2 separate regions of the Homo sapiens genome follow, and region 2 is linked to region 1. Evidence: promoter capture Hi-C in 16 types of primary human blood cells and fetal thymus (Javierre and others, 2016). All regions are on one chromosome and are shown on one strand. Each heading gives the region's core, a stretch centred on a gene start or on the middle of the fragment in contact. The rest is flanking DNA. Distances are from core to core; before and after follow the strand shown.

Region 1 (4,171 bases), core at 684-3,183:
AGAGAATCAGAATAGTTAGGAGGAAAGCTGGACTGCCCTTCAGTCACCAGGATTTACAATGTAATTACAGCTAATGAAAGTCAACAAACGCACTGTGTGGGGAGCATTCCATGGAGTTTTAGTACAAATACCAGGTGTCCGCCATTCGTAGTCAACCCCATTAAGAGACACGGACTCCTTCACAGGCCTTTTAATTCCTAGTCTATGAAGCACTCCTTGAACTCGGGTTTCTATTTAAACTCACACTGAGGGGGCGAGAGCTAATTCACACAGCTGCCAGTGATGATTACGACTTTGGTGAATTTTAAGTCACAATTTTATCCATGGAATATACTTGTTCACATAAACAAAACTCTGTTACTAGGTGCTAAATCACATCAGTTGACTCCATTATCCAGAGAAGATTTAACTCTGTCCCTCGCCTCTCTCTTCAACTCCCTTAGGCATTGAATCTTACTGTGAACTTATTCCTCGATGACATCAACCTGGAGTTGATCAGGGAGAAGCGCAAGCTGTTAAGTCACTATGGAAAACAGGCAGACAGCTGGTGAAACTACCGCACTCGAGAGAGAATCAAGGGGCTCACGAGGTCCCCTCCATGATCTAGTACCCACCAGCCCTCCCGGGGCCTTTTCCTGGGGCTCACGAGGTCCCGTCATCTAGTACTCACCAGCCCCTCCCGGGGCCTTTTCCTGACCTTCCCATCAGCTCTCTCCCCACTCCTGGAGGCCTCCTAGACTGTCGCCTAAGACTGGAACACTCTCGCCCATGGCAAACGTCTAGTTATCCCCTCCCGCCTCAGTTTAAAGCCATTCCCACCCTCCCCAGTTCCCTCTATGTTACACGCCCGCTACTTAAGGTGCCCATTAGTCCTTTCCCAGCCCTCCTTCGCCCACAGCTTCCAACTACAGATCCGCTGCTTTACTATTAGCTCCCGGTGCCCGACACACAGCAGGCGTTCCGAAATTGTTTTGTTCAAGGAATTCACAAGAGTTTGATGTGAATCCCCAAATGATTTTGTTCTGGACGCACAGCACCCGTCCTAGGAAACCAACACCCTACCCTGGCGGGCCGGGCCCGCAGCAAGAAAACACACATCTACGTGGCTGTCACTCGGCTGGCGGGTTAACGACCCCGTGCGACCCGGTACTACGGCCCCGATGGCAGGCCCGGCCCCCAGCAGACAGCCGGACTCCCAGCAGACAGGCCGGACCCCCAGCAGCCAGACCCCGGCAGGCCCGGTCCCCAGCAGACAGCCGGACCCCCAACAGCCAGACCCCGGCAGGCCCGGTCCCCAGCAGACAGGCCGGACCCCCAACAGCCAGACCCCGGCAGGCCCGGTCCCCAGCAGACAGGCCGGACCCCCAGCAGCCAGACCCCGGCAGGCCCGGTCCCCAGCAGACAGGCCGGACCCCCAGCAGCCAGACCCCGGCAGGCCCGGTCCCCAGCAGACAGCCGGACCCCCAACAGCCAGACCCCGGCAGGCCCGGTCCCCAGCAGACAGGCCGGACCCCCAGCAGCCAGACCCCGGCAGGCCCGGTCCCCAGCAGACAGGCCGGACCCCCAGCAGCCTGACCTCCAGCAAGCAGCCGGACTTTCAGCAGCCGCACTCCTAGCAGACAGGCCGAACCCCCGAGCAACCTGACCTCAAGGCAGGCCCGACCCCCGGCAGACCCTGTCTGCGCAATCCCGGCCCCGTACCTGGCTCTCGTCGGGGACCCAGGCAGCTGAGGTGAGCAGCAGATGGAAGAGACGTAAACTCAGGTGTCCTCCTCCGTAGTCGGCTCCGGGTAGCTAAGCAGAAAGAACCTCGACACTGGCACCGAGACGCCGTCGGAGGCACACCCACACCCACACCGGAACGCAACATCTCGCTGCCCGCGGCCTACGGGGATTTATCCGCAGCCCCCGGATCTGAGAGCCGTCTGGGCCTTGGGGTTTCCGGGCGCGCCCCGACAACGTCACCCGCAGACCGGCCAATCCCGCCAGGCCGCGGCCCAGTGGCGCCGGCGCACACCGAAGACGACACCAGCCATCCGGCCAATCCCGCCCCGCCGCGCCCCGCAGGCCCGCCCACTCCTCGCTTCTCCACTTCCCTTCTCGAAGTGTCCGGTCGCTTCTCGCAGGCGGCGCGCTTGCTGGGTCACAGTGAGGCGGCTCCGCGCAGGCGCAGCCGGGCGGGCGAGGAGCGGGGAAGCTGACTCAGGGCTGCGGCCGGGGTCCTGCGGGGTAGGAGCGCGAGGCCGGCCTGAGGGAGGAGGCCTAGCGACCCATCCGGCGCCTCCCGCCCCGGGCACCCGCCCGCGGCCGCGCATCCTGCGGGCCCCAGGAGGCCTCCATCTCAAAACAACGTGTTTTTAGGTAATTTCAAACTTAGGGAAAAGCTTCAAGAATAATACCGAAAATGTCAGTGTCCCCAGCACCTAGATCCCCCAGTTAAATCCTTTTCCATTTCACCGCGCTGCCCCCCGCCCCCTGGACGGTTATGTGGCCGCGTGGGGTTGGCTCTGCCCAGGGCCGCGGTCACTGCACAGAACGCCCTGCACGTAAGGGGCTCCGCCTGGGTAAGACCCCGCCCAGCTGGGCAGGAGGAGGGCGTGGGCCCAGGACATGGAGACCAGCCTGGGCAACATAGCGAGACCCCATCTCTGCAGAAATAAAATATTAGCCGGACGGTGCACGGTGGCTCAGGCCTGTAATCCCGGCACTTTGGGAGGCCGAGGTGGGAGGATGGCCTGAGGTTAGTGTCTCACATGTCTGTGTGAAGAGACCACCAAACAGGCTTTGTGTGAGCAACAAGGCTGTTTATTTCACCCGGGTGCAGCCCGGCTGAGTCGGAAAAGAGAGTCAGCAAAGGGCGATGGGATTATCATTAGTTCTTACAGGTTTTGGGATAGACGGTGGAGTTAGGAGCAATGTTTTGCAGGCAGGTGGTGGATCTCATAAGGTACATTCTCAAGGGTGGGGAGAATTACAAAGAACCTTCTTAAGGGTAGAGGAGATTACAAAGTACATTGATCAGTTAGGATGGGGCAGAAACAAATTACAAGGGTGGAATGTCATCAGTTAAGGCTGTTTTCACTTCTTTTGTGGATCTTCAGTTGCTTCAGGCCATCTGGATGTATACATGCAGGTCACTGGGGATATGATGGCTTAGCTTGGGCTCAGAGGCCTGACAGGAGTTCAAGACCAGCCTGGTGAACATGACGAAACCCTGTCTCTACAAAAATAAGAAATGAACGCAGCATGGTGGCATGCACCTGCAGTCCCAGCCTCTTGGGAGGTGGAGGCATAAGTCAGCTGTGAATGCGCCCTGCACTAGAGCCTGGGCAGCAGAGCAGACCCTTCCTCAAACCCAAAAAGCGTCGTGCCAACCAGACCAGATGGTCGCCTAATCAATAGAGACCATGCCCAATCAGGTAAGGACAGACACAACCAGGCATGCTTTTTCTTGTTTTGTTTTTTGTTTGTTGTTTTGAGATGGAGTTTCACTCTTGTTGCCCAGGCTGGAGTGCAGTGGTGTGATCTCGGCTCACCGGAACCACCACCTCCTGGGTTCAAGCGATTCTCCTGCCTCAGTCTCCCAAGTAGCTGGGATTACAGGCATGCACCACCAGGCCCGGCTAATTTTGTATTTTTAGTAGAGACGGGGGTTTCTCCATATTGGTCAGGCTGGTCTCAAACTCCCAACCTCAGGTGATCTGCCTGCCTCGGCCTCCCAAAGTACTGGCATTACAGGCGTGAGCCACTGCGCCCAGCTTGTTGTTTTTCTTTAGACAGTGTCTTCCTCTGTGGCTCAGGCTGAAGGGCACTGGGATGATCACAGCTCACTGCAGCCTCCACCTCCCAGGCTCAAGCCATCCTTCTTCCTCAGGCTCCTGAGTAGCGGGAGCTACAGGCATGCGCCATCATGCCTGGCTAATTTTTGTATTTTTTGTAGATACGGGGTTTTGCTATGTAGCCCAGGCTGGTCTTGAACTCCTGACCTCAGGTGATCCCTCTGCCTCAGCTTCCCAAAGCGCTGGGATTACAGAACATGAGCCACTGTGCCCGGCTTATTGTACAGTCTTTACTCTCGGTTTTCACCAGAGAACTCAAGGGCTGTGAAAAGAGCAGGACCTCACCAGCTGCACGGCGGTGGTGACTGGCTCCATCTTGCTGTCCCTCCCAA
Region 2 (4,326 bases), core at 1,786-4,285, 180 kb before region 1:
AGAAGAGGTTCCCAAGATTGTGAAACAGCTTTTGGTACAATTTCATCTGATAAGCCTCCATTTCAAGGGCAAACAATTCCACAGTCCTGAAAAACACAAGCTGAATCCCAGGCCTGAAAAAGACACACTGTAATGGCCTTTCAGGAAAAAAAAAGTTTTAATTGGAGTAGTGGGAGGTGGAAATCATAACGCTTAGCTGTACTCACCTCTCCATCCTGCATTCTAAATATTCTTTTGATTCCTTTCTGCACAAAGCATTTTCAAAATTATTGTTATGAAGACACTTCATGAATTTCTCTTTAAAGCTTTTACATTCACCTAGAACGAGAAAGAAAACAGCATGTTCTTTTCAGAGTGAAAAGTGATGCAACCACACAACAGCCTTAAGAGCTGCGCTGCTTTTCCTTTCAAAACTTGTTTCCTCAGGCCGGGCGCAGTGGTTCACACCTGTAATCCCAGCACTCTGAGAGGATCACCTGACCCCAGGAGTTTGAGACCAGCCTGGGCAACACAGTGAGACCCCCATCTCTACCAAAAAAAACCTTAAAAGTTAGCTAGGTGTGGCGCACGTCTGTGGTTCCAGCTACTCAGGAGGCTGAGGCAGGAAGATCGCTTGAGCAAAGGATTTCGAGGCTGCAGTGAGCTTGATCACACCACTGCACTCCAGCCTGGGCAACAGATCAAGACCTTGTCTCCTAAAAATAATCCAGGCTGGGCACGGTGGCTCACGCCTGTAATCCTAGCACTTTGGGAGGCAGAGGTGGGCGGATCACCTGAGGTCAGGAGTTCAAGACCAGCTCGGCCAACTTGGTGAAACCCCATCTCTATTAAAAATACAAAAATTAGCCGGGCATGGTGGCGGGTGTCTGTAGTCCCAGCTACTCGGGAGGCTGAGGCAGGAGAATTGCTTGAACCCAGGAAGCGGAGGTTGCAGCGAGTCGAGATCACACCACTGCACTCCAGCCTGGGTGACAGAGTGAGACTCCATTTCAAAAATAAATAAATAAATGATCCAGCCTGGTCAACATGGGGAAACTCCATCTTTAAAATAAAAAATAAAAAAACAATAATAATTAGCTGGGTGTGGTGTTGCACACCTATAGTCCCAGCTACTCTAGAGGCTGAGACAGGAGAATCGCTTGAACCCGGGAGGAGGAGGTTGCAGTGAGTCGAGATCACACCACTGCACTCCAGCCTGGGCGACACAGTGAGAGTCCATTTCAAAAATAAATAAATAAATAATCCAGCCTGGGCAACATGGGGAAACCCCATCTCTAAAAAAAAAAAAAAAAAAAAAATTAGCTGGGTGTGGCGCTGCACACCTATAGTCCCAGCTACTCTAGAGGATGAGACGGGAGACTCCCCTGAGTCCAGAAAGGAAGGAGGCCGAGGCTTCAGTGAGCTATGATTGCACCACTGCACTCCAGCCTAAGCAACAGAGTGAGACCGTGTCTCAAAACAAAAACAATCAAACCCAAACTTGTTTCCTTCATAAACATGCTGAAAACAACAATGGAAAAAACCCACAACGAGGTAAAGTCAGCCCAGTACGAGGTTAAGGTGCAATGTAGGTGATGGTCACAGGAGAGTTCAGGGTAAAAATTCTTTCATTTTTGCTATTTGAAAATGTCACAATAAAATGTTGGGAAAGAAACAGTAATTCACAGATCGTTTTTCTTTTCTTTTCTTTCTTTTTTTTTTTGAGACGTTGTCTCACTCTGTCGCCCAAGCTGCAGTGCAGTGGCCCGATCTCGGCTCACTGCAACCTCCGTCTCCCGGTTCAAGCGATTCTCCTGCCTCAGCCTCCCGAGTAGCTGGGACTACAGGCGAGCCACATCACACCCAACTAATTTTTGTATTTTTAGTAGAGACGGGGTTTCCCCATGTTGGGCAGGCTGGTCTCGAACTCCTGATCTTAAATGATCCGCCCACCTCGGCCTCCCAAAGGGCTGGGATCACAGGCATGAGCCACCGCGCCCGGCCCACAGATCCTTTTTCGAAGCCTTCATGTCCACGGAGGCAACCCCACCGGAATACGGCCAGAAGCACTGGGAGATCAGCAGCACTTTTGAGCTTTGCAGCAGACATCGCTAGGCACCGTCTAAGCCTCGGCTGCAGCTGCGGGCTTCGTGGCCGCCGAATGCCCCGCTCTGCAAACCCGGGGCACAGACAGCCCGCCGGGTGAGTCAGGGCGGAGCCGGAGACCCGGAAGCCTGACGCAAGGAGTCGGTGTCGCTGCCCTCGTCACGGGGGCCACGGTCCTGCCAGCTCCCACCTGCAGGGTCCATGCCGCAGCAGTGACCCAGGGCTGGGTGGGGCGGAGGGGCGGGCCGCCGTGCCTCAGTTTCCCCGCCTGCACCGCGCTAGATGCCGGCACCCCATAGGGCTCCGCGCTGGGCCGCGACCCAGACCCCCCATCGCAGACCCCTGCCCGCCGACCTTCCGCCGCTCACCTAAGTGATCCAGCGGGAAGCTGCCCTTGTCCGGGGGCCGCGGCTGGAAGCTCTTGGTCCCGAAATTCATGGCGGTCGACATGTTGGCGACTCCGGAGTCTGCGAGCGCCTTGCGAGCGTACGCAGGGCGGCCGGCGGAGCGCCGAGCAGGCACCCCGGGAGCGCCGAGCACGTCGAGCAGGCCCCGTCCCCGCCCCTTGCCCAGGCCCGGCCCCACCCCTTGCCCAGGCCCGGCCCCACCCCCTCGGAGTCAGCAAGCTCCTGAGCCCCGGTGGGCGCTGCCCGGGCTTTCCCGTCCCCTGGGACCCTCACAGCAGTCGGTAGCAGAATCAGCTTTTGGAATTGGTGAGAAACCGAGGCCCAGAAAGGTTCAGCGAATTGCCCGAGGACACATAGCGGTGCCGGCGTCTCTGCATCCCAGGTGTCTGCTGGGGCCTCGGTTTCCCCATCGCACAGAGACCTCATCACGGGGCCCATCCGGGGAGGAAGGCGGCACAGGAGGGACAGGAGAGCCTGTGGACTCGCTGCCTGCGGCTGCTGGAGCCAGGTGACACCACCGAGCAGCTTCAACAACAGGAATGTGCTCTCAGTCCTGGGGTCTGGAGTCCAAGCAGTGGGCAGAGTGGGGGCCCTGGGGACAGTCCCAGCCTCCCAGCTTCTGGGGGCCGCCAGCCTGTGAGGTTCCTTGGCTTGCAGAAGCACCACCTGGTCTCGGCCCCTACGTTCCCATGGTGTCCTGCGCATGTCCAAATTTACTATTTTTATTTATTTATTTGAGACAGGGTATTGCTCTGTTGCCCAGACTAGAGTGCAGTGGCATGATCACGACTCACTGCAGCCTCGACCTCCTGGGCTCAGCGATCCTCTCACCCCAGCCTCCTGAGTAGCTGCGACCACAGGCACACACCACCACACCAGGCTAATTTTTCTATTTTTCGTAGAGATGGAGTCTCCCTATGTTGCCCAGGCTGGTCCTTAACTCCTGGGCTCAGGCAATCCTCCTGCCTCAGCCTCCCTAAATGCCGGGATTATAGGCATGAGCCACCATGCCCAACCTAAATTTCCTCTTTTTATAAGGATAGCAGTCATGTTGGGTTAGGGGCCGTCCCAATAACTTCATCTTAACTAATTATATCAGCAGCAACCCTATTTCTTTGTTTTGTTTTTTAAAACGGAGTCTCTCTCTTGTTGCCCAGGCTGGAGTACAGTGGCTCGATCCTGGCTCATTGCAACCTCCACCTCCCAGGTTAAAGCAATTCTCCTGCCTCAGCCTCCCGAGTAGCTGGGATTACAGGCGCCACCAACACACCCAGCTAAGCTAATATATTTTTTTTCAACACAGAGTCTCACTTTGTAACCTAGACGGGCGTGCAGTGGTACGATCTCGGCTCACCGCAACCTCCACTTCCCGAGTTCAAGAGATTCTCCTGCCTCAGCCTCCAGAGTAGCTGGGATTACAGGCATGCGCCACCACACCCGGCTAATTTTTTGTACTTTTCGTAGAGACGGGGTTTCACCATGTTGCCCAGGCTGGTCTCGAACTCCTGACCTTAAGTGATCCGCCCACTTCAGCCTCCCAAAGGGCTGGGATGACAGGCGTGAGCCGCCGCACCTGGCACCTATTTCCAAAGCAAAGGTCACATCCTAAGGTCCTAGTGGCTTCACCATACGAATGGGGGTGGAGGGTAGTTACAGCTCAACCTAGGGCAGAATGAAAGTGTACTGTAAGCGGTAAGGCCCGGCCTTTGCGTGTCGATGTTGTCATGGCAACAGCAGTCGTGGGAAAGGGCTCAGTGAAGACCCCAGCGTCCACCCGCGGAGTCTCTCCCAGCCCTGAACCTGTACCCACATGCCCTGGCCATGAGGAAGTCGA

The links. Contacts are between HindIII fragments. The CHiCAGO score rates a contact against its expected background, and 5 or more counts as called.
Region 2: a contact is called between a fragment that was not itself captured here and the fragment with the promoter of ZFAND2A in region 1, in 2 of 17 cell types (total B cells and naive B cells). The highest score is 7.8, in total B cells.

The regions. Positions count from the first base shown.
Region 1 is chr7:1,158,263-1,162,433 of GRCh38, forward strand. ZFAND2A (zinc finger AN1-type containing 2A) reads right to left here and starts at 1,934. Exons shown (of 5, transcript NM_182491.4): 1 at 1,702-1,934. It overlaps ZFAND2A-DT (ZFAND2A divergent transcript), which reads left to right and starts at 2,112. Exons shown (of 3, transcript NR_110069.1): 1 at 2,112-2,361; 2 at 4,090-4,171. RefSeq lists enhancers at 1,036-1,550, 1,551-2,063, 2,064-2,577, 2,578-3,090 and silencers at 1,873-2,412, 2,423-2,472. The HindIII fragment of the contact is 3,271 bases long and covers 1-2,382 here.
Region 2 is chr7:972,975-977,300 of GRCh38, forward strand. It overlaps COX19 (cytochrome c oxidase assembly factor COX19), which reads right to left and starts at 2,575. Exons shown (of 3, transcript NM_001031617.3): 1 at 2,454-2,575; 2 at 207-318. The coding sequence starts at 2,535. RefSeq lists enhancers at 1,798-2,680, 1,980-2,049, 2,681-3,561 and silencers at 2,290-2,449, 2,470-2,749. The HindIII fragment of the contact is 5,464 bases long and covers 304-4,326 here.